Regions from separate parts of the Homo sapiens genome. Here regions 1, 3, 4, 5 and 6 are each linked to region 2. Evidence: promoter capture Hi-C in 16 types of primary human blood cells and fetal thymus (Javierre and others, 2016). All regions are on one chromosome and are shown on one strand. Each heading gives the region's core, a stretch centred on a gene start or on the middle of the fragment in contact. The rest is flanking DNA. Distances are from core to core; before and after follow the strand shown. Region 1 holds the start of LOC124904075. Region 2 holds the start of NPTX1 (neuronal pentraxin 1). Region 3 overlaps RPTOR (regulatory associated protein of MTOR complex 1). Region 4 overlaps RPTOR (regulatory associated protein of MTOR complex 1). Region 5 overlaps RPTOR (regulatory associated protein of MTOR complex 1). Region 6 overlaps RPTOR (regulatory associated protein of MTOR complex 1).

The links. The method cuts DNA at HindIII sites, captures the fragments that hold promoters and counts their contacts. A CHiCAGO score of 5 or more calls a contact.
Region 1: a fragment that was not itself captured here is called in contact with the fragment with the promoter of NPTX1 in region 2 in 8 of 17 cell types (naive CD8 T cells, endothelial precursors, non-activated CD4 T cells and 5 more); the score reaches 9.5 in naive CD8 T cells.
Region 3: a fragment that was not itself captured here is called in contact with the fragment with the promoter of NPTX1 in region 2 in 12 of 17 cell types (endothelial precursors, activated CD4 T cells, naive CD8 T cells and 9 more); the score reaches 12.9 in endothelial precursors.
Region 4: a contact is called between a fragment that was not itself captured here and the fragment with the promoter of NPTX1 in region 2, in 1 of 17 cell types (endothelial precursors). The highest score is 6.9, in endothelial precursors.
Region 5: a fragment that was not itself captured here is called in contact with the fragment with the promoter of NPTX1 in region 2 in 12 of 17 cell types (activated CD4 T cells, naive CD4 T cells, total CD4 T cells and 9 more); the score reaches 17.9 in activated CD4 T cells.
Region 6: a fragment that was not itself captured here is called in contact with the fragment with the promoter of NPTX1 in region 2 in 10 of 17 cell types (endothelial precursors, activated CD4 T cells, naive CD4 T cells and 7 more); the score reaches 11.6 in endothelial precursors.

What each region holds. Positions count from the first base shown.
Region 1 is chr17:80,889,376-80,893,302 of GRCh38, forward strand. It overlaps RPTOR (regulatory associated protein of MTOR complex 1), which reads left to right. Exons shown (of 34, transcript NM_020761.3): 18 at 2,345-2,462; 19 at 3,354-3,494. It overlaps LOC124904075, which reads right to left and starts at 2,796. Exons shown (of 2, transcript XM_047437253.1): 1 at 885-2,796. The coding sequence starts at 1,369. The HindIII fragment of the contact is 9,458 bases long and covers 1-3,927 here.
Region 2 is chr17:80,473,972-80,478,030 of GRCh38, forward strand. NPTX1 (neuronal pentraxin 1) reads right to left here and starts at 2,636. Exons shown (of 5, transcript NM_002522.4): 1 at 2,032-2,636; 2 at 1,540-1,747. The coding sequence starts at 2,475. RefSeq lists an enhancer at 1,090-1,623. The HindIII fragment of the contact is 19,396 bases long and covers 1-4,059 here.
Region 3 is chr17:80,956,206-80,960,060 of GRCh38, forward strand. It overlaps RPTOR (regulatory associated protein of MTOR complex 1), which reads left to right. Exons shown (of 34, transcript NM_020761.3): 29 at 1,419-1,525. Among named protein-coding and RNA genes, the nearest start is that of CHMP6, 34 kb to the right of the region's middle. RefSeq lists an enhancer at 3,182-3,699. The HindIII fragment of the contact is 3,760 bases long and covers 350-3,855 here.
Region 4 is chr17:80,860,216-80,864,020 of GRCh38, forward strand. The region is part of intron 13 of RPTOR (regulatory associated protein of MTOR complex 1); the gene reads left to right. Among named protein-coding and RNA genes, the nearest start is that of CHMP6, 130 kb to the right of the region's middle. The HindIII fragment of the contact is 2,745 bases long and covers 1,184-3,805 here.
Region 5 is chr17:80,907,955-80,911,680 of GRCh38, forward strand. It overlaps RPTOR (regulatory associated protein of MTOR complex 1), which reads left to right. Exons shown (of 34, transcript NM_020761.3): 21 at 857-975. Among named protein-coding and RNA genes, the nearest start is that of CHMP6, 82 kb to the right of the region's middle. RefSeq lists enhancers at 2,438-2,667, 2,788-2,977. The HindIII fragment of the contact is 255 bases long and covers 1,895-2,149 here.
Region 6 is chr17:80,925,145-80,929,206 of GRCh38, forward strand. It overlaps RPTOR (regulatory associated protein of MTOR complex 1), which reads left to right. Exons shown (of 34, transcript NM_020761.3): 24 at 226-336. Among named protein-coding and RNA genes, the nearest start is that of CHMP6, 65 kb to the right of the region's middle. The HindIII fragment of the contact is 946 bases long and covers 1,162-2,107 here.

The DNA of each region.
Region 1 (3,927 bases), core at 658-3,157, 410 kb after region 2:
CGAGGAAGGCTGCTCAGCCCCAGCCAGGGAGCAGGAGGACAGACAATGGCTTTGACAAGCGACCGGTCAGAGGACCTGGGAAGCCTGGCCAGTGTGGAGCCCGTGGCCACTAATGTGGCCTCCCCGTCTGTGTGCTGCTGGGGAGCCCTCAGGGGGAAGGGGTCACATGACAACACCAGCCAAGCTCATCTTGCAAAAGCTGAGAGAGAGGGGAGCTCCCACACCCCTGGCTGAGCACCTCTGCCAGACCCTCTGATGGGTTCTGCATGAATATCCTAAAGAAGGCCAGTGCGTGTGTGTGTTGCTGTCAGAGCCCAGCTCCATTCAGGAAGGGCAGGAAGGGTCCAACGCAAAGGAGAGCTCTTTGCTGTGTGCCAGGCAGCAGCCTCCAGAGCGAGGCCCGCCATCTCCAGCAGGATGTGCGGCCTCCAAGGGAGGCCCCCGTACGCAGCAGGATGTGCGGCCTCCGAGGGAGGCCCCCGTATGCAGCAGGATGTGCGGCCTCCGAGGGAGGCCCCCGTACGCAGCAGGATGTGCGGCCTCCGAGGGAGGCCCCCGTACGCAGCAGGATGTGCGGCCTCCGAGGGAGGCCCCCGTACACAGCAGGATGTGCGGCCTCCGAGGGAGGCCCCCGTACGCAGCAGGATGTGTGTTCGGGAGTGAGGGAGGCCCCTGTATGCAGCAGGATGTGTGTTCAGGAGTGAGGGATGTGCGGCCCCCGAGGGAGGCCCCGTGCGCAGCAGGATGTGTGTTCGGGAGTGAGTGCTCTCTGGACATTCCCCTTGAATAACAGACGTGGCCCCTGTTGGCCTCCCCTGAATCGAAGGGCCCACCACCTCGGTGCACGTTAATCCATGCCAGCTCCCAGCTCTGGCTTTTCTCACCTGATGTCAGAAGGAAAGGGAAAAAAATCGGTGCTTTCTGAAGACAGGTGCAGCCTTGATCTTCCCTGGAAGGGGCCCAGTGGGTGTTCGCTTTGTCGGAGGCCCCGTCTCGGCAGTGCCTCACTCCTCTTGCACAGGGAAGGCAGCGGGGGTTCTGTGGTTTGCCAGGGGAGCCTGGGACAGTGACTTAGGCAGTTGGAGACGAGCGCCAGAACCGGGGCGTGGGCCATGGCCGTGAAGACGCACACTGGGCCATGGCCCTTGGTGCCCAGCAGGGTGGGAGGGGCGGGTGGAGGGTGATGCCAGGGCTCCATTCTGAGCAGTGAGAGACTTGCAGTTCCATCGGCGCAAATCAAGAGGGCGCTGCAGGCTGAAGGGAAAGTAGACGGTGCCCGCAGTTCATAGGGCAGGGAGAGTTTGGGGTGCAGGTGAAGAGCCGGCAGCTGGACAGCCAGCCTGGACCTAGGAGAGTGAGGGGCCGGCATCAGGGAAACCACAAAGCATGATAGGAGGAAGCCCGGGGCATGTAAGGCTGGGGTGGGAAAGTGCGTGTACAGAGAGTGCGTAGACGGAGAGTGGGGTGGCCACGAGAAGACCCTGGTCCCTGGTGGGCGCCCATCCAGAGCCTGCTCATCCAGCCGCTGTGGAGACAGGGGCGTCACGCGACTAGCAAGGGGTCCTCTCACAGCGCTTGGCTTTCTGCTAAGAATCCGTATTTTTTCTTTTCAGAAAAAAAAAAGGCAGAAAAAGTTGTCGTAGGGAAAAAAACGTTCTTTCCGCTTTTTAAACCTACATCCCCCTTCTGTTCCCCAGTGACTTCTAGGATCTCCAGCTGTTCCTGTCACAGCACTGAACTGTCCTAAAAGAGAGGCAAATTGTGTCTGTTCCCTTGGACCAAGGCATTTGGTCCTAAAGATGATGTTTTAGTTCTACAACTTTTCCCGTTCCCTCTTAGGGACTAGAAACATCTACCAATGAAAGTTTCACATGTGTTGAAAAGAGCAGGCTTCGGCTTGTCCGCTGCACTCGGCCCTGGGGCGCTCAGATTCAGAAAGGCCGCCAGCCATCGGGTGTGATCTAGAGCGGCGTTTTCAGCCAGGGTCCCAGTGGTCACCGTAAGCGAGAGGCTGTGAGGCCTCCTACCTTTCCCTCTCTGGAGTCCTGTGACTCACCGTGTCCTTACGAGACCCCCGATGCGTCGTGCGCCTCTAGCAGTGGGGAGGATTCTGGCAGGCATTCTGGGCTTCCCCCGTGAGCCAGTGGCCTGCCGTCTCCCAGCACTCTGCTATTCCAAGGCCTCTGCTCTGACGGTTCGAAAAGGGATGGTCCCTGTTTCTGATGCCAATTGCACGGTTTTGTCTTAACCTTTCTTTTTTCTGTTGGTGACTCAAGTCTCACTGCTGCTCCACAATCATTTTCCAGCCCCAGTGACTGTTATTGTCCCTTCTCCCTCTCGGCAGGAGCTGGTGGTGGCTCTGAGTCATCTTGTGGTTCAGTATGAAAGCAATTTCTGCACCGTGGCCCTGCAGTTCATAGAAGAGGAAAAGAACTACGCCTTGCCTTCTCCAGCAACCACAGGTATGGCGTCTTCTCCTGTGAACCCGCAGAGCACCTCGCCTGGCGGTTCTAGTGCAGGCCGCGGCCCAGTCTTGCTCACCCTCGCAGAGTCTAAGCGCAGGTTTCTCAGATACCTGCCGCAAGGGGTCCCTGTTTTTCTCATCTTTTTAGGCACCTGCCAGATTTAAAAGGGCAGGAAAGAGGGCCACACTGACCCTCTTACATTTTTCCTTTCTTTTTACCCTTTTTGGAAATTAAACTCACAGAGACCTTGAAGTATGACAAAACTTCTGCAGTAGGAGCTTGCGGAAAAGCGCAGGGGCCGTCTTCCTGCGATGAGTAATTTCATCACACTGCTCTTGGCTCCGTGGCTCGGTGAGTCATGTCAGGCGTGCTTTCTCACACGTGTCGTTTTGACTGGAGAGTACAGTTCCTATCTCATCGCTGCCGGCAGCCCCTCCCGCTTCCACACAGCCGTCTCTGCCGTGCAGGGGCTTGTCATCAGCAGTGAGGCCTCACTGCTTCTAGGAAGCCCAGGAGGGGAGAAGGGTGAGCCAGACTGAGTGTGGACGGTCATTGCTCTGCTGCGGCTTCCCGGGGAGCACGGCTCACGGCCCACGTCACCATGCACCTCGTGTGCACTCGGACAGGCCGCAGCCACCAGCCTCTCCCCTGTTGTCTTTTGTAATTTAATATGCACAGAGCCACAAGCGGTTGTTGTTTGTCCAGTGCTATCCCGCAGAGCCTCCGCTCACGTCTGAGTCTCCCTGAGCTGTGCAGCCCCTGCTCTGACATTTGTTGCAGCACAGGTAGCAGCTGCCGTCACCGAGTGTCCCAGCTGCTGAGTGTCAGAAGACACGCTGGCCTCCACCTGGAAGCCCATTGTAATTTGTCTTTCTCCTTCTTTCCCAGAGGGAGGGAGTTTGACCCCAGTGCGAGACAGCCCGTGCACCCCCAGACTTCGTTCTGTGAGCTCCTATGGAAACATCCGTGCTGTCGCCACAGCCAGGAGCCTCAACAAATCTTTGCAGAACCTGAGTTTGACAGAGGAATGTAAGATCCTGGAAATCGGGTTATTGGATTGGGAGAGATTGGGGTTGTTTTTTCTGAAACACTGTATCTGAGTAAGCACCACTCTGCCCCTGCCCCTTCGTCTAAGTGCGTGCCCTGAAGTCCCATCTGCCAACATGGTGATGAGTCACCCTTCCAGACGTGAGCATGGCAAGGAGGCGTAGGCCAGCCCCCAGAATAGCCAGCGGGCCCGTTACCAATGCGGCAGGGAGCTCAAGCGCAGCCGCAGTTGAGGCGGTGGCTCCTTGGAGGGCTGTGCCCTGCCCCCGTCTCCCAGTAACCTGTGGTCTGCGGGTGGGGAGCTTGGCTCCCAGGGAGATCAGTGAGTGCCTGTGCCTGTGTGTGCGCCGGGGCGTGTGTGCCAGGGTGTGTGCGCCAGGGTGCGTGTGTACCAGGGTGTGTGTGCGCCGGGTGT
Region 2 (4,059 bases), core at 1,386-3,885:
AGGCCAGATGTGCCTCTGACCCACCAATGCCTCTTGGGTGTGAGGCTGGGCAGCTCCCCACCTCCAAGGCCCTTCCTTGGAGCAGGGACTCTGCCTGGAGCTCTGCTGAGAGGGCAGGGCAGCAAGGAGCTGGGAGTACTCTGGGCGCCAGGGCTCCCCAAGGTGACTGCTCTAGGATGCCGCCACACTCTCAGGTGAGTAAGTGTCCTCACAGCTCAGGTTCCAGGCCTGGTGGCCTCCCTTTCCACAAGGCCCACCTTCTCCCTCCCCACCGGCCACTTCTCCCGTAAGCGCCAACCCCCATAGCCCATCTATATACTGTGGCACCCTGGGTATGGTGTGACTGACTCCAGGCAAAACATTCCTGGCCAGCAATGGGCACAGTAGCAGGCCCAGAGCCCAGGAACACACACCCCTTGGTCAATCCCTGGGTGAGCAGCCGTGGTCCTGCCAGGAAGCCCAGAAAGAAACCAGTTCCCCAGGCCAAAAATTATTTCTAGAAGACATCCTGCCCGGTCAGCAACCACCCCCTCCTCTAAACCAACTGGCAGGGAGCAGAGCAGGGCAGGCCCCCTCAGTGCAGCACCCCAGCGGCTACCCCAACCCATTGAGGCCTGCAGTGGGGGATAGGGAGGGGCCCAGCCCCTGGCCTTTCTCCGGGTGTTTTTCATTCCCCAATCTCCGCTCCTTCCCTCTCCCTCCCTCCTGAGGTCCTTCCTTCTGATCTGTTTTTCAGTTACATAACAAGCCTTAAGATGGCACTGTTTAAATCTGTCCGGCACATTTTGCGGTCTGAGCAGGGTCACGTGGCCTTGCTCCGCACCGGGCACCCCCCCCCCTCCCCTTTTACAACCTTGTTTGATTTCTGCGACTTCAAGACAGAGCCTCCAGCGCTCATCCAGGCGCCCTGGGTGATAGACTGGCTGGCCTGAGTTGGTGACTGAGAAACCTCAGGGATTTGAAAGATGCCAGGACTTGGGTCACTCAGAAAAGAAAACCTCAGGGTAGGGGTTCAGGACAGAAGTGGGGAGGAGCTGGAGATCCTGAGAGGACACCGGGGGCATGGCAGCCGGGAAGAAACCTGCTTAACAGCCTCAGCGGCCCGGGGAACGAGAGCGCCCAGCCCCAGCCTGCACCCAGCTGTACGCTGAGGCTGGGGACCAGGGAGAGACAGGCTTTCTTAAGCAGGGAGGGTTTGAGCCAGCGACAGCCACTGTGCAAAGTTACTGAGGATTAAACAAATCAGACTTGAAAAATCCAGCGAGTGTGTGAGTGTGTCTGGATGGGGGAGGGGGCACTATGCAATCCCCTTTCCCAGAGACAGCCCCAGCCCAAGGCACCCAGCCCTGATAGAAACACCGACTAGAAGCCCAGAACCTGGGAAGGGGTGCGGGGAATGAGAAAGCGGTGCAGGGGTTGGGGGTAGCGGAGCGGCTTGAGGCTTGCACAGTGCAGAGCTGGGCTGTTAGGGATCGGGACCGAGGCAGGGTCGGGCAAGCAGGTGCAGGCAGGCAGCACGGCTCCCCCTGGCCCCAGTACCTTTCTCGAGCTCGCTGATCCGCTGGTGCAGGGAGGTCAGGGCGGTCTCGATCTTGACCCTCTCCTCGGTGTCGTTCCTGGGGCCCCCCTTGCCCTCCTCCAGGGTGTTCACCCGGGACAGCACCTGCCTCTCCAGCTCATCGATCTTGCTCTGCAGCAGATCCTTGAGGCTGTTGGTCTGGCTGGAGGAATTGAGGCGGCTGTACTGCTGCGGGGTGCAAGGGCGGGGGAAACCACACCGTTAGGCGAGGCGCGGGGACCGTGCTGGAAGGCCCGCGGCGCGGTCCCCTCTGGGCGACTGCGGGGGCGGCCTGGCAGGGAGCTGGGGCGAGTGGCCGCCGCGGGGCCTCGCAGGCGCGGGGAGGCACCGGCCGGGCACCCGCGCGGCTGAGGCGAGGGCGGGGGATGCCTGGCCGGGTAGGGAACGGGGTGGGGGAGGGCAGAGGGGCGAGCGAGCCGGAGGGGGAACCGGAGCCGAGGGCGCGCGCGGACCTCGAGGTTCTCCAGGCGGGTTTTGAGCGATTGCAAAGTTTGCCCGAGTTGGCTGAGCGTCTCGGCGGCCGGTGTCCGGGACAGGTCGCCCATGGTGTTCTTGCCCGAGCCGGGCTGCTTGCGGCCGCCGCCCGCCCGGGCCTCGCCGGCTCCGGGGTCCAGCGTGCTCTGGCTCTCGCAGCGGCCCAGCTTGGCGGTCAGCTCGCGGATGGTCTCCTTCTGGCTCAGGATGGTCTCCTTCTGCTGCAGCACCGTCTCGCGGAGCTGCAGCACGCTGCTCCGGAGCTCCTCGGCGCCGCCGGCGGCCACGGACGCGGCGCACATGTCGGCGTCCACGGGCACCGAGGTGCAGATGAAGCGCGTCGGCCCGAAATCCTGGGCCCCGGCGCCCAGGAGGCAGAGGGCGAGCAGCGCACAGGTGCGCGCGGCGCGGCCGGCCGGCATGGCTGCGGGCACCGGGCGCTCCGGGCCCGGCTCGGCTCGGCTGGGGCTCGGCTCCGGCTGGGACCCGGCTCGGGCTGTGGCTCCGCGAGCGGCCCGCGCTCTGGGCGCCGCGCTCTTCGGCCGCGCGGTCCACACCGCCGCGCTATCAGGCCCCCACTGCCGCCTGCGCTGCGGAGCCCGCGCCTTTTATGCCGCCGCGGGAGGGGCCTCGAGCCGCCGACGTCAGCGGGGGAGGAATCCCGCTTTAATTGTCCGCGGCCCGGGCCCGCGGCGCGGCGGGGGTCTCACGAGCGCGCCACCGGGGCTGCCTCCGCTCGCGTCCCCCCCGCCCTTCTGGGAGCTGCCGCGGCCCCCTCCTCCCCCGCCCCCGCCTGGGCCGGCGCTGCTGCCCCGAAGGCTCCGAGAGCTCAGGGGGAAGGAAGTCGGGCTCCGGCCCCGGACTCGAGGATGGACCACCTGCGTGGTGTCCCCGAACCTCCGACGGGGCTCCAGGCGGGCGGGAAACCACCGCGTCCGGGAGATAGAATTCGGTTCGGCCCTCCTGGCTGCACTGAACACCCTTGGGCCGGGGTCGTTTGGAGCCGGGCTGGGTGCCCAAGGACCCAGGTCGTCAACACCCGAGTGCCCGGTGGTCAACGGCTCGGAGTGGGGCCTCGCGGCGCCACTAAGTCCAGAGCGGGGGTCACCGGGCCGCCCCGCGTTTCTTAGATGTCCGTGTGCTATTGAGAAGCCGCCGGGCAGCCTGGGTACAGGGACTTCCCACGGGTCGGGGCCCCCGGCGCCTCCCCTCCCCCAGCTCCCGGGCTCTGTGGACCCGGCCCCGTCCCCGGGGGACTGTCAGTCCCCACCCCGTGCGGGCGGGGCGCTGGGGACTTCTCGGAGGCAGACCTAGCTGATCGAGCCTTTCCTGTCCGCGGCGCCGGCCCGATCGCGGGCAGGCGGCGTCGCCGGGGCTGGACGTTCGCAGCGGCGCTTCGGAAGGGGGCCCCGCGGGAGCAGCCGCCCGCGTCTCCAGCAGCTTCCCCTTGCCAGGCGCCGCGCGCGCCCGGTATCCCCGGGTGTCCACCTGTGCGTGGGGGGCTGTTTCCCGTCTGTCCAGCCGCGCCCACTTCTCAGGCCCAAAGGCCAGCAGGAAGGGTCCCGGAGGTGGCTGGGGGCGTCCACCTGAGAAGCTCCGCTCTCGCTCAGACACCCCACCCGGCACCCGCGCACTCGCGCCTTCATCTGGACCGCGGGGCTCGGCTCCCGAGATCGCGGTCCGGGTTCCGGCGCCGGGCTGGGGGCTCAGGACCAGGGCTGGCGCAGCCGCCCCGCCCCGCCCCGCCCCGGGGCTATCAGAGCGGTCAAAGCCTCGGAAATCCCTCCGTCCACGCTCCCGTGGTACAGAGAAGGAAACTGAGGCTCCGAGACTGCGGGGCCGGGCTACAGCCGTGGCCCCCCGACCCCTCCCCGCCGCCCCCGGCTTCTCTGGTCTCTGCGTTCTGCAGCCTTTCCCTGCGCGCAGCCGGGGGCTGGGGGTCCCCAGCCAGCAGGGACCCACGGGCAGTCCCGGGTGCCGGGATCGGGCGTCCGCCCCTCGGGCGG
Region 3 (3,855 bases), core at 980-3,479, 480 kb after region 2:
AATTATGCTTCTCTATGAAAAAAAAAAAAAAGAGCAAACAATGGTAAAATGTTAGCAAAGTTAGAGCTGAGTGGTGGGTACAAGGATTACTATGGTGTTCCTTTCTGTATCTTAAAATGGTTATCATTACAGTTTTAGAACTGAATCTGGTTTTAAATACAGGCCGTCACGTGAGGTGGGGGTTGCTCTGCTCTGTCTAATCCCCACACAAAGGGCAGCCCTTGCCCCATTCTCTCCGTCCATCCCTTGCTGACGCCAGCCGTCGGGAGTCAGCCCCTTGCTGTCTGAAGGCTGCCGGCCCGTGGCCCATGCCGAGCTCCTGTTTGTCTCAGAAGAACCGGCTTCCTCAAGCTTTGATAGGGCCAAAAGGAGGACCCTCATCTTCAAGCCTTAACAGCCTTCCTAAAGTCACCCAGACCTGCCAGTTCTGCCCAGGCGTCCAGACGGCAGGCATCTTAGACGTCGCTGCAAGGGTCTGCTCCAGATGGTGAGCACCTTAGACAGACGTTGCTGGAAGGCACTGCTCTGAACGGTGGGCACCTAACAGACGTTCCGGGAAGGCACTGCTCCGGATGTTGGGCATCTTAGATGTTCCTGGAAGGCACTGCTCTGGACAGTGGACACCTTAGACAGATGTTCCTGGAAGGCTCTGCTCCGATGTTCCTGGAAGGCTCTGCTCCGAACAGTGGGCACCTTAGACAGACGTTCCTGGAAGGCTCTGCTCCGAACAGTGGACACCTTAGACAGATGTTCCTGGAAGGCTCTGCTCCCTCTAGCGATGCCTGGGGCATAGTCGAGTCAGGGGAAGACTCAGAGTTCCAGCTCAGAATTGTCGCCCCAGCCTGGACTTGGGAGTTCCAGCTCAGAATTGTCACCCCGGCCTGGACTTGGGAGTTCCAGCTTAGAACTGTCACCCCGGCCTGGACTTGGGAGTTCCAGCTTAGAATTGTCACCCCGGCCTGGACTTGGGAGTTCCAGCTTAGAACTGTCACCCCGGCCTGGACTTGGGAGTTCCAGCTTAGAATTGTCACCCCGGCCTGGACTTGGGAGTTCCAGCTTAGAACTGTCACCCCGGCCTGGACTTGGGAGTTCCAGCTTAGAATTGTCACCCCGGCCTGGACTTGGGAGTTCCAGCTTAGAACTGTCACCCCAGCCTGGACTTGGGAGTTCCAGCTCAGAATTGTCATCCCGGCCCGGACTTGGGAGTTCCAGCTCAGAATTGTCACCCCAGCCTGGACGTGGGGCACACCAGGGTCCCTAGCGGGAGCTCATATGAGGCATATGGACCCACCAGATGGGCTCGATGGTGGCAGGGGTACCTTGTAGCTGCTGGCCAAATTGCTGCCCAGAGCAGGCCCCAAAGCCTGCCCAAGGCAAGGGCCCATGGGGTGATGCCATGTCCCACTGTATCTCTCCAGGAGCTGGGATGGTGGTGGACTGGGAGCAGGAGACCGGCCTCCTCATGAGCTCAGGAGACGTGCGGATCGTCCGGATCTGGGACACAGACCGTGAGATGAAGGTGCAGGTAACCATGCAGGTGTCCCCCAAGCCCTGGGCCTGTGGGGCAGTGTGTGCAGGGCTGGTCCTCGTCACAGAACCCAGCAAAGTGTGCGGTGAGGCCTGGCCATCCCAGGGGTGGAGTCAGGGCCTGGGAGGACAGTGCCGGGACAATGCTGGGAGGAGACGTGGGCTCCCTGAGGCCTCTGGATGAAGGTGAACTGCAACACCCAGCCCTGCGCTGCAGTATGGCTCAGGCTGCGCCAGCTCTGAGTGTTTGCAAGTAGTGTCTTCTCTCTGCAAATTAAGGAATGTCAGAAATCAGTAGGGTGACCAATTGTAAATTAGAATGATTAATTATTTGGAGGCGTTTTTTTTTTTCTTTTGAGATGGGGTCTCACTCTGTCACCCTGCGTCACCCAGGCTGGAGTGCAGTCGTGCAATCACAGCTCACTGCAGCCTCAACCTCCTGGTCCAAGTGATCCTCCCACCTCACCCCCCCCCCCCACCACCAAGTAGCTGGGACTACAGGCATGCACCCACACGCCTGGCTAATTTTTTTAACTTTTTGTAGAAACAGGGGTCTCAGTATTTGCCCAAGCTGGTCTCGAATTCCTGGCTCCGGCAATCTTCCTGCCTTGGCCTCCCAAAGCACTGGGATTATAGGTGTGAGCCGCTACAGAAGACAGAAGATTTTTGTTTCTTTTTTTTTTTTTTTTTTTTTTTGAGACAGAGTCTTGCCTTGTCGCCCAGGCTGGAGTGCAGTGGCGCGATCTCGGCTCACTGCAAGCTCCGCCTCCTGGGTTCATGCCATTCTTCTGCCTCAGCCTCCCGAGTAGCTGGGACTACAAGCGCCCACCACCACGCCCAGCTAATTTTTTTTTTGTATTTTTAGTGGAGACGGCGTTTCACGTGTTAGCCAGAATGGTCTCTATCTCCTGACCTCGTGATCCGCCCACCTCAGCCTCCCAAAGTGCTGGGATTACAGGCGTGAGCCACTGCGCCCGGCCAGAAGCCTCTTTGCTTCTTAAAGCATCTGCTATTTTCAGTTTTGACAAAAAGCGGAGTACATTGGTTTTGCCCAAGACAGCCTGGAAAAGTGGTAGAGACCTAAGCAGGCCGCGCTCAGCAGAAATCTAACTGCATTGACTTCATTTGGAGCAGAGGCGAGACCACAGATACTGTGAGGGGCAGCGCCTGAGGTGGCTTTAGAGCCAGTATTCCCTTCCTCTGGGTCCCCAGGGAGAGGTGTGGCACAGAGGCCATACCCAGCCTCTCTCCCGGGCAGGCCATCTGGTGTCAGGAGGGATGGCTCAGCCCTGCTGCCGTAGAGGGCGGTGTGGAGCAGGCCCAGCAGAGGGGAGGCCTGGGCACCCTCAGCTGCTCGAAGCTGCTGTGGTTGCTCTGGGCAGCAGCAGCCCGAGAACCTGGCCCAGGCCTTCCCGTGTGGGCAGCCTCCCCTCTGACGTGACCGTGGATCCCTCGAGGCACCAGCAGCTTTCATGGCACCTTCTTTGGGGTGGGGGGGTCTTGCACCTGTCTGGAGCTGTGGCTCCACACGAGACGTAGCCCTCAGGGCACAGCGTGGACACCCTGATCCTCAGGGTCTGGTCACCAGTGGGGGCTTAGAGGCCCAGGTGGCCTGCGGGGCAGGTGCTGTTCCTGCAGAGGTGGGTGGAGGCACAGAGCGCAGCAGGTGCTCCCAGAGCCGGCTCTGCCCCTCGCAGGGGTCTGGCCCCATCATCCCCACGCCTGTGTTTCCTCCTGGAGTGCACAACCCAGCACCGCCCATCGTGCGTGGAAAGCGCTCTCCCTCTCGTGGCCCTTTTCCTCCTGCGTCCCTGGCAGGTGCCATCGCCCCCGCCCCCGCTTCTCCAGCACTTAGAGCCCCCGAGGGAGCCAGATGACCCCTCCTGGACTCGTCCCATAGCTCATTAGAAGTTCTGAGACGCAGCCAGTGAGGAGTCCTTGCCAAAATGTGCTTTGCTTTCCTTTTTAGGAAACAGAGAGAGGTTGGAAGTTTAATTGGCACTGACAGCCAGTCCTTCCCAGAGGCGTTTGCAGGCCTCCGCTCGGGGTGGGGCTGGCCTCTGCCTCACTGGCTGGGTCCCAGGCGCCTCAGGGCCTCAGGGCTGTCCCTCCAGGGCCAAGGGATAAGGGCGTGACTCATTGTCCTGCCAGCCCCTGCCTCTCCCTGGGACTCCTGGGCTCCCCAGGCCTTTGATGCTTCCCTGGATAGAGAGAAAGGCCCCTGCAGCCAGGGAGGGTGATCCCCACAGCCAGGCAGGCAGCAAGAGGGGTCCTGGCGCTGCAGGACAGCAGGGAGGGTGGCTCGGTGCCCCGGTCTTCACCGGGCTG
Region 4 (3,805 bases), core at 1,306-3,805, 390 kb after region 2:
ATGTCGCACTGGCCACCAGGACCTGCTGTGCTCGCTGAAGCTGCCCTGTTGGGCTTTGTTCAGCCAAATTCACTGACCCTGTTGTCCAGGCACTGGCAGGCACCCCGAGCCACAGGCTCGTACCCCGCACTGTGCGCTCTCACCCGTCAGCCCTGCACACCCCACACAAAGCCACTGCTGTGTCTCCCACCCACAGCCGCTGCTGATTCAAGTCCAGCCCAGGCCATCAGGTCCCCAACTGTGCTGCCCACGGACCCCTGGGCCCCTGCTCAGCCCTTCTGCTCCCTGCACCCAGCCCTGACCATAGCCTCCCCACACCCCAAGTCCTCACGTACTACTTTGGTGTCACAGCTGAAGTCAGGGGGCAGTGGGGAGGCTGCTGCCGAAGCGGACGGTGAGGGCTTCCACCTTGGAGGCAGGCGTCAGTCGTACCCAGCACCAGTTGACCTCTCGCTGGTTCCGCTGATTCTTGTAGATTCCCTGGGATTTTCTGCTAGTTCACTGGTTCTTGTAGATTCCCTAGGATTTTATGTATATGCTCTCTCCAAGCAGAAGCAGCTTCCAGCCCCTCTTCCGGTTCTGGGATCTCTCACTCTTTTTCTGGGCCTGGGGCACTGACCATGGCTCTGCTGGCACGGGTCGGCTACCGTGCTTGCCATCTCTCCCAGCTGCTCCTGATTTCCTGAGCTGGATGCGGGGAGCTGCTGCTCTTCCTCTCAGCACAGCTGAGGTTGACCTTGACCTCAGTTCAACCTTGAACCCTCCTGGGCCCAGTGCTCTGCACCTGGCTGTGACCAGAGAACGCTCCATAATGGTGACCTGAATACCATATATTTCAGCAAAATATTTTCCCTGCTACCCATTAAACTACAGATAAAGAATGACTGCTTTGAAAGATTGGCTAAAGCACTGGATTTAAGGTTAAAACCCTGAGTTTGATCCCATCACCGCATTTGCTCTTACAAGTCATTTTCACTTCCCTTGGCCATGATTTGCCTCTGTAAAATCATGAGCCTTCGGCCGTCTGCCTTCAGCCACAGTTCCAGAGCTCAGAACCAGGACGTGGAAAACTGCTGTGTAAATTATAGAGGAACAGGAACAGGACCAGGAAGGGGCACCACGTAAATCTCACATCTCTCCTGCCTGTCCCTGTTACACTAAAACCTTTTCTTGCTAAACAGAAAGCTTGGCTTTGTGGATCAGGACGCGAGAGGTGTGGGTCATTTCTATTTTACTCTTCTTCAAATTCACTGAAGAGCCACATTATGTAAACAAAGGGTGTTTGGCAGGAAGTCATTTTGAAACGTGGTTTCTGTCCTACACCCATATCTTCGTCATCTACATGGACACACTTAGAAATATCTTGGCACCTGGCCACGGATGAAGGACCATGTGTAGGGGCTCTGGGATGCACAAAACGGTGACCCTCACATGACACAAAGCCCAGGGTGAAGGGAGGAAGAGATGCCATCTGCATGCAGAGGTCTGGGATTACGGCCGCCTGAGCCTGCTCCCCAGCACCGCCAGTGCTGCAGGAACGTGTCTAAGCCAACTTTGATTCTCAGACTTCGTGTTTTTAGTACCTTTTAGGACCTGGAAATTGATGATGTCTTTATTTTTAGTCTCAGGGGTGGCTCTTGGTGAAAGGGGACAGCCTTCCTCGTACCTTCCTCGTGACATTCTCACTGCATCCACAGCCCATCATGGTATTGCAGTGCAGGGCGTCTTGTTTAAAACTGGCTCTTGGTCCCGTGGATCTCCCAGGGCCTGTTGCTCTCGAGTGCCCCAAATGGCAGAACGTGGCCATGAGCACGGAGGCTGCAGCGTGCCTTCGTTTTACACCCTGCTCCAGGCAGATACCAGGGCCTCGGGTTTATTATTCATGCTGCTGAAGGGGTCATCTGCTCAGTACTGCTTGGGGAGCTGTTCCCACAGCCAGCTGGGCATGCCCTTGCCTGCAGTGTTCTTGTAACTGCCTGCAGGCATCACAGGCCTTCCTGTGAATTAATTTCTTAACCAGCTTGTTGCACCTGCATGTTTAAAAGCAATCATTCCACTGAGGGGCATTTTGAAGTGTTTCCGGTAGAAACTGAGCCTCGTCTACCTCACCTGCCTCGCCCTTCCTTCCATCGTTACCCTGGCGATAACTTCCCAGAGATGAAAGTTCCCTGTGTTTTTGAGGGGTCATTCCTCTACTCCCTTCCCCTCCCCACGTCTGGCCATGGATGTTGCTGGCGGTCCTCCGGATCTCCACCCCTACCCCCCCATGATGTGTGCACCCCCTACAATGTGTGCATGCCCCTCTGTGTTGGTGATGGTCCTCCGAAGCTCCGCCCACCATGATGTCTGCTCCGCCCCCTCGTGTTGCTGGTGGTCCTCTGGAGCTCCGCCCACCATGATGTCTGCTCCGCCCCCTCCTCGTGTTGCTGGTGGTCCTCCGGGGCTCCGCCCACCATGATGTCTGCTCCGCCCCCTCCTCGTGTTGCTGGTGGTCCTCCGGGGCTCCGCCCCCACATGATGAGTGCCTCCTGCAGCCCTCAGCCGTCCCTGTGACTCCTGGGGCTTGCCATTGTGCAGATCGGGGTGCACATGGTGTACAGACGGGTCCACCTGTGAAGATCGCAGAGCCTGCTCAGAGGTTCAGAGGTGCAGACAGAAGCCAGCCACTCCCCCAGTGTTCTCAGCATCCCCCTGCTGCCGCCAGCCGGCCCTCAGGACACACTTAAGAGTTTGAGAAGGATCGGAGCCCACTCAGGCTGGGCCCAGCGGAAGGGCGAGCCTGGGACCTCCCCTCATTTCCCAAGCACCTTTGGGGCACACCGTGTGTCCCATTGTGCCAGAAGCTCTGAGGGATTCATGGGGAGGCCTTAAAGAAGGTGGGCTCGGGCGGAAGAAAAGACGGAAGAACACCATGTGCCACCGGGGAGAAGTGTGTGCCGTTTACATGAGACAGAGCAGGGCACAGTGGTGACACTGATCTGACACAGATGGTACCGCACAGGACAAGGAGCACCAAGGGGGGCACATGAAGAAAGCCGTCTGTCCAGGATTCTCCCAGGACTCTGATCCCAGAGGGCCTCCCCCAGCATCACTCCCCATGCCAGGTTACACTCCACTTCACACTACCAGCCAGAAATTACCAGGCAGATAGAATCAGGAAAATATGACCCGTAATGAAGAAAAGGAAATCAACCCATTAAAACCTGCTCAGAACTGCTGCAGGTGTTATCATTAGCAGGCCAGGACATTAAAAAGTTAGAAGTCTACTCTACATATTCAAAAAGTTAAATTGAGACACGGAGAATATAAAAAGAACCCAACTTGAATTTCTAGAGATGAAAACTGCAATATGTGATGGGAAGAAATATACTTGATGGGATTAACAACCAGTTAAGCATTGCAGGAGAAAACAGTACACGGTTAGGCACGGGGCTCACGTCTGTAATCTCAGCACTTTTGGAGGCTGAGGCAGACAGATCACTTGAGTAACCAGGATTTCAATACCAGCCTGAGCAACATGGTGAAACCTCGACTCCACATGAAAAAATACAAAACTCAGCCATGCATGTTGGCGCGTGCCTGTAGTCCCAGCCATTCAGAAGGCTGAGGCGGGAGAATCGCTTGAGCCCGGGAGGTCGAGGCTGCAAAGAGCCGTGATTGTGCCATGGCACTCCAGCCTAGGGAACAGAGTGAGGCCCTGCCTCAAAGAAAGAAAGAAAATAGCAATAGAAACTAACAAAAATGAAGCATGGTAAGAAAAGAAAAAAAAATTTAATTAAAAGAATATTATTCCATTGCGGGACAA
Region 5 (3,726 bases), core at 772-3,271, 430 kb after region 2:
GTCGTGGACGTAGCATGGCTCAAAGGTTTGATGGGTGTGCGTTCACATCCTTCATCCTCTGGGCCTCACCTTCCTTGGCGACGCTGGGGGTAACACCTGCCTGTAGGATTGCTGGGGAATTAAATAGGACCGAGCAGCCGCACCGACGAATCCTCACCGACGAAGCCTCAGCGCTTCCCTCCATGCCCACGACTCACCAGTGTTATTTATAAATGAGTCTGAGTCCCTGCTGGGTCCTGCCTTGTCTGTCTTTGTATCCGAGTATGCAGCACAGAACCTTGCATTGAGTGTTGGGTGAGTCGGGAGAGGCTTAGGGACAAAAGTCACAGCACATCAACCTTTCGTGAAGTCCTAGCATCTCAGAGCAGGGCCAGTGCCTGGAGGTGGACAGGAAGCACGTGGAGGTGGGCAGGAAGCACTCCCTGGGTCACAGTGCACAGCAGCACGTGCTGAACTTGGTGCAGTGCAGACGTCCATGCCACATGCACCACTACCCATGGGCTGCGGCAGCTCCTAGAAATCTAGGATGTGACATCAGACGCTCCTCCGGGAGTGTGGTCATGCCCTCCGATCCGCTGAGGCATTTCAAGGAAAGTTACACCCTTTCCAACGCAGTTTTCCTTTTAGAAAGATTTGGCCTCAGTAGATGAATCCATGTGATCAAGCCTAGTGATCAGCTAGGATTCTTGAATCTCGGGACCCGTTGCCAGAATAACAAAATGGGGGCTTCCTGTAACCTCGGCTCTTTAAAGCAACACTTCTGATACCAGGGTTAGGGTTTCAGAAAATGCAGCCGCCTTAGGAGCCTCATTGGCAGCTACTTTCCACTAAAACATCTTCCATTTCTCTCTCTCAGGAGTTTCCTTTAACAGTGTTTACACTCAGATTTGGAGAGTCCTGCTGCACCTGGCTGCTGACCCCTATCCAGAGGTCTCGGACGTGGCCATGAAAGTACTCAACAGCATCGCCTACAAGGTACGTGCCGGGCGCTCCCCACCGCGCTCCAGCTGCTGGTTCTCGGTTACGAGTATGCATGCCAGGAACTCCAGGTGTGCCCGGGTCCACACCACAGTTTAGAAAGTAACAAAACGAGCTTCAGCAAATATCTTAAATCTGGAGATGTACACAGTACACCCCAAACTGTGTCTGTGCAGCTCCCACGTGGGCAGAGGGTGCTGGATTTACTGATGCCTGTCAAGGCAATTAGGGGAGGACTGACATTATCTTTCAGGATCCTCTGGTGTCTGGGTGAGCTACAGTGCTGGCCCTTCTTCCATTTTTTTTTTCTTTCTTTACTTAATTATTTATAAGAGATGGGGTCTCCCTGTGTTGCCCAGGCTGGTCTTGAACTCCTGGGCTCAAGGGATCCTCCTGCCTCAGCCTCCCAAAGTGCTGGGATTACAAGCGTGAGCCACTGCACCTGTTTTTTGTTTTTGTAAGACAGTCTCACTCTGTCCAGACTAGAATGCAGTGACCTGATCACGGCTCACTGTAGCCTCCAACTCCTGGGCTCAAGCAATCCTCCCACCTCAGCCTTGGAAGTAGCTGGGACTACAGGTGCACACCACCACACCCGGCTAATTTTTAAATTTTTTGTAGAGACAGAGTCTCAGTGTGTCGCCCAAGCTGGTCTCTAACTCCTCAGTTCAAGTGATCCTCCTGCCTTGGCCTCCTGAAGTGCTGGGATTACAGGCATGAGCCACCACACCCAGACTTTTCTTCCCTTTCTGATAGCAGTAATTTTTGACTCATTCAAAACCCTTCTAGTTAATGGTTTCTTATTCATGGCCATTCTAGCTCAAGGGAACTTTTCAAAGAATCAGTTTTTGGTTTCATTGGTTTTTCTCTGTTGTTTGTCCATTTTCCATTTGATTGATTGAGCTTTCATCAATAAAGCTTGCTTTCTTCTGCTTACTTTGAGTTTAATTTGCTCTTCTCATCCTAGTTTCTTAAGGTAGAAGCAGAGGTCATTGATTTTAGTCCTTTCTCTTTGGGGACTGTAAACTCTTCTCAGTCCCTTTTGTGAGCTCTGGGCATTTGGCCTACCGCCTTCCCGCTGTTTTTTCTCTGCCTCATGGGTTGTCACTCTACCCTTGAGCAGATGAATACTTAGTCAAAGACCCCAGGGGCCTCTCCTGCAGACCTTGGAAGCTTTCCCCTCTCCAGTGCTCTGTCCTGCAAATTGTCACCACCTCAGCCTCCCTGGAGCCCCAGTCTCTGTCTCCTGTTCCCTGAAAGTGCTGGGCTCCCCGTCTCTGCACTGTGGCCTGGGACTGCCTGAAACTACCTGCAAGCCGGACACAGGGCAGCTGTTTATTTCCGTTCTCTCAGGGATCACAAGCCCGTGACACCCAGCACCCAGTGTCCAAAAACAATTGTTTACGGTATTTGTCCTGGTTTTCTAGTTGCTTATGGAAGTTGGATGATTTATGTGGAATTAGAAGTCACTCATTATAGCACTTAAAAATTTTTTGGTAACTTTTTGATAAAACTTCAAAAGCTTACAGAAATGTTGCAGGAAGAATGCAGGGAAAGGCCACACTCTTGCAGCCTCTGTGGTGTTCTACGTCTTCATCTGACCTCGTCACGGCTATGGCGTTGCCTCGGGTATCACTCAGTGCCAGGGTCTGCAGGGTCGAGGAGCCACGGCTTCCCATCCTAGTCCATCGCTTTTTCCAAATGAGCTATCGAGTCTCCCCCTCTCATTTGCTGTGGCCTTCTGGGTCCTGGCCGGCCATCGAGCCAGGGTTCCTGCAGCTCCTCAGCTCCTTTTGCTGATATTATACTTCTGTGGCTTTCGGTTCCTTCAACTAAGTTATTTTCTGTTGGTCTAGTTATATCTTAGATGGAAATCACCTTACCGTCTGCAGTTGGTTCTTCTTCAGTTCTTTTTTTTTTTTTTTCTCTTGCTCTGTTGCCAGGCTGGAGTGCAGTGGCACAATCTCAGCTCACTGCAGCCTCCGCCTCCCAGGTTCAAGCAGTTCTGCTGCCTCAGCCTCCCAAGTAGCTGGGACTACAGGCGTGAGCCACCACACCCGGCTAATTTTTGTATTTTTAGGAGAGACGAGGGGTTTCACCGTGTTGGCCAGGATGGTCTCGGTCTCTTGACCTCGTGATCCGCCTGCCTCGGCCTCCCAAAGTGCTGGGATTACAGGCGTGAGCCACTGCGCCTGGCCTGTTCTTTATGGTATCACCGGTATAGTCACAAGTAGCCTATTGGCCAACTTGGAAAGGTCCAGATTGTTTAATTCTGCACCGGCCTCCCCTCCTGCAGCGGACTCTGCCACTTCCTTCGTCACCGCATCCCTGCAGCGGATTCTGCCACCTCCTTCGTCACCGTGTGGTGTGGCCAGCTGCACGGGCACCTGGAGACGTTCATCCCCAGGCAGCAGGCCATCTCCTCAGGTTTCTTTTATGTGCTACTGGCCTGTTGAAAATAGCCAGTCAATTAAGTTAATGTTTTCATTATGCGGTAAGAAAACTAAGAAATAATATAATTATTTGCTTTTAAACTAGGAATAAGATAAATACAAAAATAAACCTCAGGCTGGGTGTGGTGGCTCACACCTGTAATCCCAGCACTTTGGGAGGCCAAGGCGAGAGACGATCACTTGAGCCCAGGTGTTTTGAGACCAGCCTGGGAAACATAGTGAAACCCCGTCTCTACAAAATAGTAGCAAGTTAGCCGGGCACGGTGGCAAGCACTTGTGGTCGCAGCTACCCAGG
Region 6 (4,062 bases), core at 385-2,884, 450 kb after region 2:
TGGCTCACACTTCACAGCCCGGGCCCCTCAATCCCTGGCCAGACGTTCAGGGGTTCTTGGTCACCAGGATACGGAAGTGAGCAGAGCACAGAAGTGCCGTCCTTAGGGGCAGCCCGGTGCTCCCGGCAGCGCCTTTGTCCCCAGCTGCAGCTCTTTTGAGCTCAGGAGTGGCATGACTGACTGGTGTTTCTTTTTCCTTCCAACCCTCCTGCTTAAACCCTGAAGACTGCGGACGACGCGGACGATGCTGCTGGACACAAAAGTTTCATCTCCGCCACGGTGCAGACGGGGTTCTGCGACTGGAGCGCCCGCTATTTTGCCCAGCCCGTCATGAAGGTGCGCCCGGGGTGTGGGGTTCAGAGTAGAGTCCTAGCGAACATGTGTCTGTCCCACTTCTTTGAGCATAAACGCTCAAGGCTTGTGGCTGTGGGAGCGTCCCATTGTGGTCGTGGTAGTGATGGTCACGGTTGAGGTAGAACCGCAGAAGAAACAAACTTCACTTACCTTCCTGTCGCCAAACGAAAAGAGAAAACCTGCCTCGCTGGAGCTTCCCAGTGTGACAGGTGTCACTTTGCCTTAACTGACAGGGTCACCACAGGCCTTCCCACTCCCTAATGGTGAGGATCACTCGAGGCCCATCCCAAGGCCACGCTTGCGTGGCTCCGAGGTCTGGGGACTGTTAGACGCAGCCTGCTGCAGCCAATCCTAGCGCATTTGGGGTTACACCACAAGACCATCTCTGAGGCTCAACCCTGACACAGCCCTAACAAGCGCCGTGTGCTGTGGACGCAGTGGCTGTGTTCCTGCAGGCTGGGGCAGGGCGGCGGCTCTCGGCCTCTTCGAGGAATGGGGCGGGAGCTGCTTTGTCAGCACAGTCCCAGTGCTCATCTCTCTGCCAGGGCCCAGCAGGGACTCGTGGAGATTTTCTATAAATCTAAAGTGCATTCTGAGCAAACCTGCCTCTTCCCTCATATATAATTGAAAGCTGAAACTCTCAGCTTATTCTCGATTGTATATCAAGCTTGCGTCTTAGTCATCTCTGTGAATGGTATTTGGACCCCATGACAGCTCAGTCCCTGTGGTCCTGTCTTCATAGTGAATGCTGATTTCTGTTCATAAAAACAGAACCATCAGGCAGCCCCTGAGGCAGGCAAGCCATGAAGCTTGAACTACGGAGCCCCTTTACTGCAAAGAGAGAGGAGTTCGCCTCCCTCTTCTCACATGAACCTGGGTGGACAGTGGCCTGGCTGTTCTAGAAAGCGTCTTGCCGGGAAGCATCAAACGCCTTAAATAGCCGTTCCCTTTGACCCAGTCATGAATCTGCTAAAATACTGTCTTGAGAAAATAATCAGAGATGTAGATGACTTCCGTGTTGTTTCTAAGAACGAAAATTGAGATTCACTTAAATGTCCACAGAGGGTGAATAGTTAAAAAGTTATGAAATATTTGATGAGATATTATTGGAGCTACTGAAAAGTTAAACATTAAAAATAGTGTCCTAAGGAAGCGCTCATGACAACATTCCTTAAAAAGAAAAAATGCAAAATGCAGACCAAGAAGCCAGATTTACAGAACAATCACAGCCGTGCTTCTCATACAGACACAGATGTGCATACGACGGAGACCAGCAGAGCCCGCTCCTAACTAGAGATTCGCAAATGGCGCCACCCACGACTGCACTGAATTGGGCTTCTTTTGTGCCTCTTCTGCAGTTTCTACACTAAGCACGAAGCACCTTTAGAGTCGGGGGAAAAGAATCAAAGAAACAAACCCCAGGAGATCATTGAGGCTGGTGGATTCAGTCCTAGTCAGAAGCCCCTCACCAGGCCCACCTGCTGGGCTCACCGCTGCTTACCTGCGGGTGGCATGAGGGTGGCGGCCCCTGCAGACAGAGGGAAGTGCCCCTTCCCATCACTAGGAGGCTTCTGGTTAGGAAAGGAAAGCATACACAAATCCTGGAATTGGATGCAGGAAGCAGGAGCCACCCAAACTCTGAGTGAGCCAGAGCTGGGAGGTGGCTGGACACTGTGCCAGGGGTGCCAGGCCGTCCTCTAGAACTGCGGCCCAGTCTGTTGAAAAGTCAATGGAATTTAGTCTAATGTTAACAAGCTTGGTGTCCTTGATGCGGTCTCGTGCTTAAGGCAGACAAGGTCAGGCGACTAAGAAACCCACATGGTCTGGTCTTCGCTCTTGCTGGGATGGCAGTGGCTGTACATGTTGGTAATTTCTTGGTGTGATAACGAGAGGCTTTTCTTGAAGTCCTTGAAAAATGCCTATTCTCAGTCATCTATCCTATGATGAAAGAGGAATGGCATAGATAATCCAAAACTCATTGCTCTTAAACTTAAAAATGAATTTGACTTTTCCCCAAAGGATTTGCTTTCCTTTCCTAAGCATTTTTAAGTACACAGCAGCTGATTGCAGGAGGAAGTTCCCCAGAGGCATGTGGAAGGCCGTGTGTGTGTCTGTCTGTCTGTCTGTCTGTCTGTCTCTATGTGTGTGTGTGTATCCCTGTGTCTGTCTGTGTGATGTGTGTGTGTATCTCTGTATGTGTGTATGTGTATCTCGTGTGTGTGTCTGTGTGTTTCTGTGTGTCTGTGTGTGTGTGTCTATTTGTTCCGGTGTGTGCAAGCCCCAAGCCAGCGTCTCCTCTCCCTTTCTTCAGATTAGCAGCCCCTCCTCCGCCTGCCCTCATCTCCTCCATTTGCACATCTGAGAATTCCCGCCCGCACGGAGGAGCTGGAGGGTGTCAGCCTTGTGGTCTGGCCCTGCCAGCAGGTCCTGCTGTGTGGACACTGCAGAGGAGATTAGTCCAAGGGGATCCATGTAGGAGCTGCCATCACACAGGAGGTTGATCAGGAAACGGTTGCTGAATGAGTAAATGATTGTCTTCCTCTGCCCCTGCCAAGTATTTGAAAACAAATGCTCACTTGGTTGTCGTTGAAACAACAGGCTCTGGGTGTCATGATGGAAAAGAGCGCCGTGTTGTGGTCGGCGTCGTCTGTAACTCCTGATAGCAACTGCAGTCTTAGGAGTGTCTTTAACATTAGAGACCTTTTCCAAACTTCAGAAGAGGAAGCAGGACGTGTTTTCTCTTGTTTAAAAAAAAAATTGTTTTCCTACTTTTTCTAGGTGGTATTCATAAAGGTATTCTTTTACTGATTTAATTCATCATCTAATGACATTTGTGTAACGAGCTGCATTAGGAACTTCTTGTTATTAGCCTGCTTCACATGTAAACTAAAAATAGCTCTAAGGCTAGGATTGAACCTAAAAAAGAACAGAAGAACTGCAAACCCGAAACTGCTTCAAGGTATATAAGAAACTAAAACAGTTACCAGGTCACAAAATAATGACCAGTTTACACTGACATGCAACTAGCGATTAGCAGGATGAGCATCCAAGGACACCGTGGTAAGGACAGCGTCTGCTAACGTTTTTATTAGTTCACCGTCAGATTTCGTACAGGTCCGTATGACTAGAAAGAGCCGTGTTCTGTCTGCGGCTCACCTTTGATTGGTGAAGCAACCTCCTTTCTTCCCATGTTGGTTTACGGAGCTCGTGTCTACATTAGAAACCACAAAAGAATATTAAAAATGGTCTGCCGTGTGCTTAAGAAAGAAAAAGATGTATTGAATTGTGTTCTGATTACAAAAGTCATACAACTTTTTTCTTCTCTCAGTTGGAAGGTTTCAAAAATTGATTCTATCCAGAGAATCAATCCCTACAAGGCTGTAGGGGCATGTGAACTCTCAGACACTGTTGGTGGGTGGGTCCAGTACTCCCTTTGCTTAGGGCAATTAAGCAGTAACTGTCAGGATTAGAAAAGGGTATACCTGCAAAGCCAGCAATCCTGCTAGGAGGCATATATTCTTAAAAACCACTAATATACATGTCCATGAAAGGGTTCTGCCCGGAGATGTTCATGATAACATGATTTGTAATGGGAAAAAGTTGAAAAGAATCACTTAGTAGGAGAGTTAATTTAAAATGATGGATCCATGGGTTAGAATACTATACAACCATTAAAATTCTTTAAGTTGTATCTTTCTATGAGGACTT